Regions from separate parts of the Homo sapiens genome. Here region 2 is linked to region 1. Evidence: promoter capture Hi-C in 16 types of primary human blood cells and fetal thymus (Javierre and others, 2016). All regions are on one chromosome and are shown on one strand. Each heading gives the region's core, a stretch centred on a gene start or on the middle of the fragment in contact. The rest is flanking DNA. Distances are from core to core; before and after follow the strand shown.

Region 1 (5,528 bases), core at 2,504-5,003:
CACAGTAGCTCAATCTCACTAGAAAATTTCACCTTCATCTTATTCCACACAGGACCCAGTGCCCTACAGCCTGTGCTGACCCAAGTTAGAGCAGATTCCCTGAGAACAACCTAGGCATGCCCTGGGATGGTGAAATACCACTCATGGGGACCCAGGTAAGGCCTCCTGGTAGTTGTTAGTGCCAGAGACCATCATCCAAACTTCAGAAGCCGGCACTTGAAGAGGTGATTTTCAACAGAGAAACTGTGATCAATGGCAGCACCACAGACCACTCAGCTATGATGGCAACACCTTTTAAAGATGGCACTTTGATTAGAAAGATTTTCTTTTTAGCAGATCCTATGTGCTATTGTCAAGCCTATATTCGAGACTCCTCCCCTCTTTTAAAATAAACCTGAAAGCTAATTTGGTTATACAAGGCAGCCCAACTGCACAAAACCATCAACAACTGTTCCCTGAGAACAGACTAAGCCTGTAGCCAACGTCAGATGTAATAGCTCCCCAGCCCATAAGCAATTTCTTTCCTTACAGATTTTTCACTGAGACTGGAGGCTGAACTCAAAGGCATAATCATTTTTAAAAGTGCTTCCAGGGTAATTCGTGTCAGTCCTGGGGCAGCTGGATCTTATTGTAAAGAAGTTGTTTTGCATGTTTGTGAGTTTTCAACCCTGTGATTAGTAGACGGGGAGAAGGAGGCAACAGAGGGTGGAAGGAGGAAAGGAAACCAAAATTACTAGACACTGCACACCCAAAAATGCCGAGTAAGAGGAGGTGGAAGAGGTATCTCGCCTATCAGCTTTTCCCTTGACTCCCATGGGCCAAATAAAATCATGTTATTTCACCTTCTTCCTCTTTTGCTTTTCTTCAAATAGTTTGGGAGTTCATGACAAACCAGTCACAGTTGGCAAGTTTAAAACTAAACATCATTTGGCTTCTCTCTCTAGCAGGGATGAACACAAAGATCAACAGAATGCAAGAAAAAGCCAAGAGTGTTTTCAGGGGTGAGCCACAGCTCTGTGGAGCCTTCAGAGATCATGCAGCCTGACTGCTCACTTTCCAAATGAGGCGGGAGACTGGAGGGCTGAGCGTCTGGGCCAAGGTCACACCACAAGTCATTAGAACCAGGATCCAGACCCAGGCCTCCTGATTCAGAGCCTAGGGCTCTTCCTCTATGGCTTGGGGAACCATGGCTGAGTGCTGCTTGACTGTGGCACAAAAAACGGCTGTTAGAAAGGAGTCGCACCCATGCGATAGTGCTCCTGAGAGGTGAGGACTGGAGGGACAGTTGTAATTAGGTCATTGCCATGCTCCACATTAGGCAGTGGGCCTGGCTGTGAGGAGTCATGGAGACAACAATCAAGGTGAGCCTGGTCTCTGAATCAGCATCTGTCAGAAGGGGTTTTGAATAACTAAATCTGCTCACCAGAGGCCATGGGGGTGGATGAGAATGGCCCACAAAGGCTGTCCAAGCAGCCTCCACAGCCCCGGCACCCTCACCTGCTGCTGCCTGTGTGAGTCCTCTCCCCACCCCTTCTACAGTCCGGCTGAGCCCCTCCACAGTCCTGGTAACCAAGTAGGGATCATCCCTCTGGGGCTGGGCTTCTGCTGTGGTCTTGCAGGTCCCCACCCTCTCCAGGAGGAAGAACTGCCCTGAATCTGGTCCTGTGGCACTGGCTCTGCTGACAGAGTCAGCTGTCGGGTGGGAGCCCACTCTGGGTGGAGGCAGCAGCCTCTCAGGAGCCCGTCACTGTGGCAAAGTACAAACTCTTTGAAGCAAAGACTCTGTGGATCCAAACCCCAGCTTTCTAGCCGAGGAAATACTGGATCTCTAGACTGCAGTTTGTCTACCTATAAATGGGATATACCCTTGTTTTGAGCATTACACGAGATGATCCACATAAAGCACTTAGCATGGAGCCTGCTCAGGGTAAGCACTCAATAAATGGTAGCTGTTGTCATTACTTAAAGGCCCGCTCTCTTTCCTGGCTCCCCCACCCATCGGTGTTTCTTCCTCTTGGATTTCCCATCATCACCTCTCTACTGGTTGTGTCCCCCAGGGTTCTATGCTTTTTCTTTTTTCTATTTTCTTTTTTTTTTTTTTTTGAGGCAGAGTCTTGCTCTGCCACCCAGGAGGGAATACAGTGGTGCGAGCATGGCTCACTGCAGCCTCGACTCCCTGGGCTCAAGTGATCCTCCTACCTTAGCCTCCTGAGTAGCTGGGACCACAGGCTGCATGCAACTACACCGGGCTAATTTTTTTTTTTCTGTAGAGATAGGGTCTGGCTGTGTTCCCTAGGCTGGTCTCGAACTCTTGATCTCAAGTGATCCTCCCTCCCCAGCCTCCCAAAGTGTTTGGGATTACAGGCGTGAGCCACCACACCTGGCCAGATTTTGTGCTTGACCCCTCCAATCCCCACTACACTAAGTACTTGTTGCCACACATCTGGGTTGCTCTACAGATAGCACATGCAGCAGCCCTCCAGGTGGGCTTCCTCCTCCCTGGACTGCCTCCTCCGTTCTCTCCTCCAAGCCTCCTAGAGTGCTGGCTCCATCTAGGCTGTTGTAAATAATCAGCCTAGCAGTCAGTGCCTACTAGGATGAGCTCCTGACCAAGCACCTGGGCTGAGACCCAGCTGAGACAATCACACCCCACAAAAAAGTACAAGCTCGAAAAAATTCCATGCCACTGCTTAAGGCAGAATGCAGTCAGGGGAAGACAGCACCTCTCTCCAAAACCCTTTAGTAAACTATTTTCCAGCAATAAAACCCACTTTAAATTCAGGCAGAGAGAAGGACCTCAGTACTCATAATTGAGAGAGCACATTTAATCAAGGCAGTAGACAGCTATTTAATTCCACTTTCTTTTGCCTAAATGTCCTTGTCCCCTCTTTTCCATTCACTTGCTCTAAATCAATAGTTCTCAAACCCTCCGTGCTGAGAGATCAATTGTTTATTTTTCTTGTTCCCAAACTACTGTGGGCCAGTACTTTTGTAAAATGGTAAAAATAAATTTCTAAAAAAGAAAAATGCCATTCCGATGGCACAGAAAGTTTTAATTTCTATAAAGTTTATTACTTTCAGTTTCTGTACATATCTTTTGGTAGTCTGGTAAGCAAGCTTCTCGCCGACCTACACCAGCCCCTGGCCCAAACTGAGAGTAGGTAGAACAGCTTCTGGAAGGAACAGAGCCACAGAGGAGTCTGTCTCCCACAGACACTCCCCATCCCAGGTTTTTGTCCTGTCATGTAGTCCGCTCAGCAGCAGCCCTGCTCCACCCAGAGCATGCAGTGGTGAGGTTTGGGGTGGGATTTGCCCAGGCTTTGGTTACTGATATTCCTTGAGAGTCTAGCAGCCCCCAGGAGGAGGGATATGCAGAGATGTTCCCAGCCCCAGTGCAGTGCAGGGACTGGCCCTTACCATTCCATGCCAGCCCTGTTGATCTCCTCCCACCAGCACTCCGTGGGTTCCCCGAGGCTCTGTGGCGTGGGCATGCAGGCGTAGTTCCATTGTCTGTCAGAACCTTCCTTCTTGCTGAAGATGCTCCTCACGGCCACTATCACCTGCCCCTGGGGACACTGGTAGCTGAAGCCTTGCCGGTTCAAATTCACCCACCCATCATCGCTGTAGTCATGATACTGCTGGTATGGGTATCCATAATCGCCATACTGGCCCCAGGCCATGGTGACTAGGGGCAGAAGTACCCAGAGAAGACTGAGGTCCATGCTGCCTGGGATTTTGGCAAACAATGTCACTCTAAGATTGCTGGTCTGACCGTTTTATATAGCTGCCGCTGACATGTGGCTTCCAGATGTGGGTGAGAAGGATCCAACTGCAGTGTGTCATTGCTTAAGCAAAACTTTTCCATGCTGAGATGTCAGCCATAAGGACATTCAGCTTGTTTTAAGGTGGAATTCTAGGAATATACCAGCAGCATGTAAGTCTAAGAAGCTCCCTGGAGAAAGAACAACTTTGTATCTAGATTATAAAAGCCAACTGCTGCTCTACCCTGTAGAAATATTCACTTGAAAAACACTGATTAGTAGCATATTTGTCCCTCACCTTTCAGCACCTCACCCCTTTCTGTCCTACCCTACCCGCTACTAGCAAACCCCTGTATTTGTTCTCCAAACTAGCCTTCCGGGCCACACAAATACCCAGACAGTGATTTCAAAATACCGAAATCATAGACTGAAGTAACAGAGCCATCTAGGATTTCTGTAAGGCTGAATGCCTGTTTTTTTTTTTAAGTTGTCAATCCAACACTTTTTAACCCTTGAGTATAAGCGCGGGTATACCAGTTTGCAGGGCTACTCTGAGAACTCATAAGTTGCATAAGGAAGTACTATGGGCCCATGGGGAGATAAGTTGGATATGATTTCTACACTTAAGCATTCTACCATGCTGCTGAAATTGGACCCAGTCAAGTCTAGAAAGTGTGCTCTGCTCTCAAAATGTAATGGGTTTAATCTAAATAAACCCCCTATTTATCCTTCAGTATTTTTGCCCTCACATTGAATTTTCTTTTCATTGAGTTATAATTTACATATAATTAATTCACCTTTTAAAATACATAATGTACAGTAACATAGCCAGCACCCTAATCAAGACTTAGAACAGTTCCATCAATCCAAAACATCCCCTTATATCCCTTTGCAGTCAAATCTTCCCAAACACCCAGCCATTGGTAACCACTGATTTACTTTCTGTCTCTATGGTTTTGCCTTTTCCAGAATGTCAAGTAAATGGAATCATACCACACGTAGCCTTTCATGTCCATCTTTCACTTAGCATAATGCTTTTAAGGTTCATCCATTTTAAAATTCAACATCTCATTGTATGTGTTAGTATTTTGTTTCTTGTTATTGTTGAGTAATATTCCATAGCATGGATGTACCACAGATTGTTTATACATTTACTAGTTGAAAGACATTTGGGTTGTTTCCAGTTTTTGAAAATTCATTACTTTTTATGTAATGAATTTTATATTCATTATATTTTATATAATGAATTACATAAATGTAATTATAAAGTTGATATAAACATCTATGTATAGGTTTTTGTGTGAACAAATTTTTATTTCATTTGGGTCAATACCTAGGAGTGAGATTGCTGGTTCACAAGGTAATGTATGTTTAACTTTAAAAGAAACTACTGAGGCCGGGTGTGGTGGCTCATGCTTGTAATCCCAGCACTTTAGGAGGCCGAGGCGGGCGGATCACGAGGTCAGGAGATCGAGACCATCCTGGCTAACATGGTGAAACCCCGCCTCTACTAAAAATACAAAAAATTAGCCAGGCTTAGTGGCGGGCGCCTGTAGTCCCAGCTACTCGGGAGGCTGAGACAGGAGAATGGCGTGAACCCGAGAAGCGGAGCTTGCAGTGAGCCGAGATTGTGCCACTGCACTCCAGCCTGGGCTACAGAGCGAGACTCCGTCTCAAAAAAACAAAAAAAAGAAAGCAAGAAACTACCTAGCTGATTTCCAAAGTGGTGATACCATTGCCCACCACTACCAGAAAATTGCCATTAAA
Region 2 (5,988 bases), core at 1,433-3,932, 580 kb after region 1:
AGTAAATTAGAAGAGTTAGCAGAAGAATACTAAAACAACCAATTCTAAGCTTTTCAAACGCAAAAAACTGAACTACAAGAAAGGAAAAAGCAATCATAATCTTTAACGTCATTGAAAAGAAAAACCTCAATCCATTACTAAAAATGTTTCATTGTTTTCATCCAACATGTCCCTGATTCCATAGTTATCTCCATTCAAAATCTAAAATTGAAACCACGATGAGAGTTCATAAATTTTTTCCCATCATTCTTATCTAATTCTTTGCTTTAAAGGTTTAGAAGGAAATAGGTATTAACAAGTGAATCACTATCTAGAGAAGTTTTTTGTTGTTTTGTTATGTTTTGTTGTGTTTTTATGAAGAAACTAACCATTCTTTCACAAAGATCTATCCATTAACCCTTTCAAGAAATATTTACTTAATGCCAACCTTGATTGAGGCACTGATCCAAGAACTAGAAATACAAAGTCATACAGAACTCAGCAGCTATCTTCTGGATATTGTCATCATGGCGGAACCGACATTTGAACAAACAATTTTAGAAAAGATGCATACATTGTGAGAAATTCCTCCAGGTGAGTTTCTCTCTTCTAACTTGTCTTATCGGGTATGCCAAGAATGCAAGGACCTGACTGATCTTCATCGGTGTCGTTTCTCAGGATTGTGTTTGCAACAAGAAACCTTGAGGGATAAGGTAAAGCCTCTCTTCAGTATAAAGAGTAGGCTTGTTTATTGCTTGCTAATGGAACAGCTGGTAACCCAAGCTCACTCCTCCTCAGTTGTGATGCCACCCTCTAGATACACAGTATACACCTGGGCATTGGTCATTTTATTCCTGTAGGATATGGAGGCAAGGAGAACCAATATAAACACAATGCTCATGCTGCTTGCTCTACCATTATAAAGTCTTTTGTCTCTGACCCAGAAGTCTCATGTCATCTGCTAACATCCATGGAAGAGTTACAGGTAACTTCCTAGCTTATAAATTGGATGAAATCTCAAGCTCAACATACTAATAAAAATATATGAAGTGATATGAATGATTAGATAAGCAGTTAAGTTTTCTTGGGAATTAGTTTCCATGAGACATTTGAGTTGGTTCTGAACGATGAATAGGAATGGATGAGACAGAAGACAAGGCAGAGCATTCAAGACAGTACAATATTATGTACAAGAAAACTGAGATGTGATAAAGCACAACATGTTCAGGGAACTGAAACCTAAGTATCCTCTTAGAGCTATTACAGTAGGTGAGTACAGATGACTAAGAGTCTTGTATACTCTATCAAAGAGCTTGTCTGCTTGACCATATTTTCCTGCATATGGGAAACCACTGACGGATTTAAGGAAGGGAATGGTAACATGTTCAAATTTTCATTTTATGAGGTTCATTCTAATGGCAATAAGAAAATGGCATGGAGCAATCTTGAGGTAGGAAATGAGCCATCAAGGAATAGAAGGTAGTAAGTCAAGAAGTAGACAAATCAGTCAGTAGCCTATGTTGATACGTTGAAAGCCTGAATATGAGCCTATAAAATGCCTAAACTAAGGGGCTGCAATAGGAATTATAAGGAGAGAATTGCTCCCAGAGATATACAGAAAGCAGAAGTAAAAATATTTATATATCAGGTAGGTATGAGGAATGGGGGAGCAGCAAGATGAATCTAGGATCACTTTCAGATTGACAGTTGCAGAGAGAAGTCAAGGCTGAAGATGTATTTGGAATTCATCTATAAGTAAGTGGTAGGTGATCATATGGACATGCATGGGACTACTCAAGTAAAGTTGTAAAGAAAATAACATACAACAAGCTGGATGCAGTGGCTCATGCCTGTAATTCTAGCACTTTGGGAGTACAAGGCAGGAGACTCACTTGAGGCCAGTTCGAGACTAGCCTGGGCAACAAAGCGAGACCACGTTTTTTAAAAAAACAAAAAGCAAGGATCTGGAGGAATACCTAATTGAAATCATAGTGACCGTCACTGAGATGGGAAAGCAAATAGAGCAGAGCCCTGGATGATCACTGACAGAGATGTTGAAGTCATCCCAACTGTCAGGAGACACTGGAATAGAAGGAGACTATAAACAAAGTGCCCAAATCTTTAACAAATGTGGAGTTTGTGAACTGTAGAATGGAAATGAGGCTCAGTGGATGGTAAAACAACTAAATAACATGAATTTCCAAGGATGAAGAAGAGTATAGATTTTTAGGAGAGAGCTAAAATACGCTATATCGTGACCCTGTGACATAAGAAACATTTGTGAGTGAGCAGCCTACAGGGCTAAAAGGAAAGGAATGTCCCTGGAGAAGGGTCAGATTTCAACTAAACTAAAAATGTGCGGGCAAAGATACACTCTGTTAAGACACTATGGACATAGGGATATTTGTTCACAATGAAACTTGATTTCCAGAGGGGCCAGTGAAAATGGTTTGGTAAGAGATTTGTGTTCAGAAGACTATGGGAAAAGGAAGTGCATAACTACAAATGAACAGGTGTGTCAACAAGTAATTAGAAGGGCTTGCATCTGTGGTACTCCAAAGAATGAAGTATTTCAAAAGGCATGGGTGGAATTAACAAGACTTAAGGTTTCAAAGAAACTAGCAAATGTATGCCCTATGGTGCTCTTGAAGTGTTTGCTGGTTTTAGCATTTTTCTTCATGTGCTATAGGGCCATTATGATAAACAAGTAGCATCTTTACCACAGGAAGTTAGATACCAAGTCATCAGACACTAGAAGTATAGAGACACTAAACTCATGTAACCCTCACAACTACTTTATGAGATAGGTACTATTATAAATCCCATTTTAAGCCAGGCGCGGTGGCTCATGCCTGTAATCCCAGCAATTTGGGAGGCTGAGGCGGGTGAATCATTTGAGGTCAGGAGTTCAAGACTAGCTTGGCCAACATGGCGAAACTCCGTCTCTACTAAAAATACAAAAATTACCCGGGCGTGGTGGTGTGCTCCTGTAGTTCCAGCTACTTGGGAGGCCAAGGCAGGAGAATTGCTTGAACCTGGGAGGTGGAGGTTGCAGTGAGCCGAAATCGTGCCACTACACTCCAGCCTGGGCAACAGAGCAAGACTCCATCTCAAAAAAAAAAAAAAAAATCCCATTTTGCAAATGAAGAAATAAACACAGTGGTCAACTGTTCAGTCACACACCTAGTAAGTAGCACAGTTACAAGCAATCTGGTCTAAATACTGTGCTCTGAAATGTAAGCCTCCTGTCTCTCTAGAAAATATGTAAACTAGGAGATCATACATAAGGGAAAAATTCCAATTAAACATGTCATTGTCAGGGTAAAATGGAGGGTTTTGTGTTAAAGTTTCTCGGAATCAGATGTATTGAAGCTGACTTGAATGTCTACTGCTCCCCATTGTCCCTGCTCTCACAGAAACAAAAATGCAACTGACCCATGGAATAAATCCAGAAATGAATGATTTATTGAAGCATTAAGAAGATATCTGACCAAAAACAAACAAAAACTAGTGGAGAAACATAAGAACACTATTGGAGCCAGATCTGCCTAACTGCTACATTCCTGTCCCTAGAGACACTCTGTGTTACACTCAGCCAACCAGAGGGTGATCCCAGGAAACAAAGGCCTCTGTCCTATACTCATCTCCCTTCTTCATCTTCCAGAATGTTTCAGTCTTTGCTTTGTCCATTTGGTAGGAAATTTTTTAAAAACAAATGTCCAATATCATGGAAAAATCACTAGTTTTTTTTCTAAAGGATCTCTAAAAAAAACTGAAGAGAAGGTTTTCCCTATCCTTTGTTTGTACGTTGTTAATATTCTCCTTGCCATTCTTACGGGGTTAGAGTTACTTACTTCATGATAGAAAGGGATAAGTAAATGTATAAGTCTTATTTTCACTAAATAACTTAGAAAATATCTGGTCAAACAGGTTGTACTGCTTGTTAGATAGGTATATTTACCTATCTAGGTAAAAAATAAATAGGTATATTTGCCTATTATTTATAATAAGAAGAGCTAAATGTAAACATTTCCAAATGCATCATCTTTGGAAATCTCAACAGTAAATCCTCTTGTCAAATAAAAATAATCAGACATCATTTCCTCTATTAATTTTATACAGTGTGTTATCCTTATATATTAAGAAATGATTATAATTATCAAGCACTGGTGTTATAAAAGCAGATGGGGTTTTGAAAGACAATAATAATTAAATGAGGCATGCATAATTTGACAACTCCTAATTACTTAGACTTCAGTGGTTATTTATGCATCTGATTACTTGGTGTCTTATTGTTCTTTTCTTTCTTCTTTTTCTTTTTGTTGCCTGGTGTAATGCCTACATGACAGCTGAATTTCTACCCTGTCCTAACTTTGCTTATCTTTAAGAAACAGGACTTCTGCAATAAAAGGTTCCCTTTACAACCAGACCAGTTAAGACTGGTTAGAACCAAGATATGCAACCAAATGACATCAAAAAGACCTCGGGCTTCATTATAATCTCATTTTCATACTATATGGCACTCCCACCAGCACCATGACAGCTGAAAATCACCATGACAATGACCGGAAGAGGCCATAAAAAGACAAAAAGGAAAGCAGCACTGCGATTCACCATCAATTGTGAAACTGGTGGAAGTTCACCACCAATTTCCAGAAAAGACATGCATATTGCTCCTCTTGCTTTTCATGTCCTTTATTAGAGAAATCCTTTATTTTAACCCCCTCACCCCTCACTAGTTGAGAAGTTGATTTGTGAGCCACACTCCTGTTTCTCAATTCCACAGACACTGAATAAAGCCTGCACTGCTTGATACTCACTTTCGGTTTTGTATATGGGCTTCATGACACTGAATAGGAAAAGATCAAATCTTTTAGGGGGCCGGCTTTGTCAGTAACATTCTAGATGAACTCCTGTCAGTTCCCATTTTGGTTAAGTTACTATTCTATTCTTTGTCATTCAATACGAGGTTTTTTAATTTTAAACAATGACAAGAAAGACAGAAAATGATTTTTTAAAAAGGAATCAGACATTACATAACTGAAAATGATAAAAAAATTACCTTGAAAGCATCATCATTTTGAGTTTGGTTATAGTAAATCCAGCTTTGTTTATTATTTCAATTATTTCTCCAGCCTTTGATATTGCATCTGGTTTAATTAGGGCTAGCGTTCTATAAGGAAACAAAAAATAAGTTTGCAAATAAAAATAGTTCAACAGTTTTTATTTATAATTCCCAAGCAGCAGTATTCTCAACAATCATCCTAGATCATCAAAATTTGAAATTAATTGTATAGAAAAGTGTATTAAAGACATCCCTTAAAAACTTACACAAAGTAAGCTTAGTATTTTTCCCATGAACATCAAAATTAGATACTAAACTTGGGGGAGGGAGAAGCTTAGGAAAAAAAGCACTAAAATTTAATTATTTTTAATATATCCAAATGAGAAAACACAGGCATTTAGAATCTCCATTTCTTAGAATACATTTTATACAAAGGACTAATCTCTAAAACATTGCATTAAATATATTATGAGCTTGGTTTTTGGTCTCTTAGACTTCAACATATGTATGCTATATAGTCAGTTCAACATTGATTTGGAAATAATTATAAATTCTTCTATTGACTCTTTATTCATAACATGGGTGACTGCATGAAGAATCAAATGTCTTCTTATACAACAATGTATATGAATACGTAACAACATGCTAACTTTTAAAATCATGTTTTTCTCCAGGAGGATACATCAGAACAATGCATTCTCCACTCTCCCCCTCTGAAGATTCAGAATTAAGAGAAATTTGGAGATGAAGATCACCTGAGTGTCCTCATTTTACTAATGATGAAACTAGGCCTACCAAGGTAACATGACAAAGGTTACACAGCTGGTCAGCAACATTTTCAGGACAAAACACCCAGTTTACCAGACTCCTAGGTCTGTCCTTCCACATCACAAATAATGTTACTATTAATATTATTAAAAAGGGGCATCATCACCAAATCCTCA

What was found. The method cuts DNA at HindIII sites, captures the fragments that hold promoters and counts their contacts. A CHiCAGO score of 5 or more calls a contact.
Region 2: a fragment that was not itself captured here is called in contact with the fragment with the promoter of DPT in region 1 in 1 of 17 cell types (M2 macrophages); the score reaches 5.9 in M2 macrophages.

What each region holds. Positions count from the first base shown.
Region 1 is chr1:168,725,453-168,730,980 of GRCh38, forward strand. It overlaps DPT (dermatopontin), which reads right to left and starts at 3,754. Exons shown (of 4, transcript NM_001937.5): 1 at 3,418-3,754. The coding sequence starts at 3,722. The HindIII fragment of the contact is 3,243 bases long and covers 3,116-5,528 here.
Region 2 is chr1:169,304,929-169,310,916 of GRCh38, forward strand. NME7 (NME/NM23 family member 7) reads right to left here. Exons shown (of 12, transcript NM_013330.5): 4 at 5,042-5,152. Among named protein-coding and RNA genes, the nearest start is that of NME7, 60 kb to the right of the region's middle. The HindIII fragment of the contact is 5,271 bases long and covers 48-5,318 here.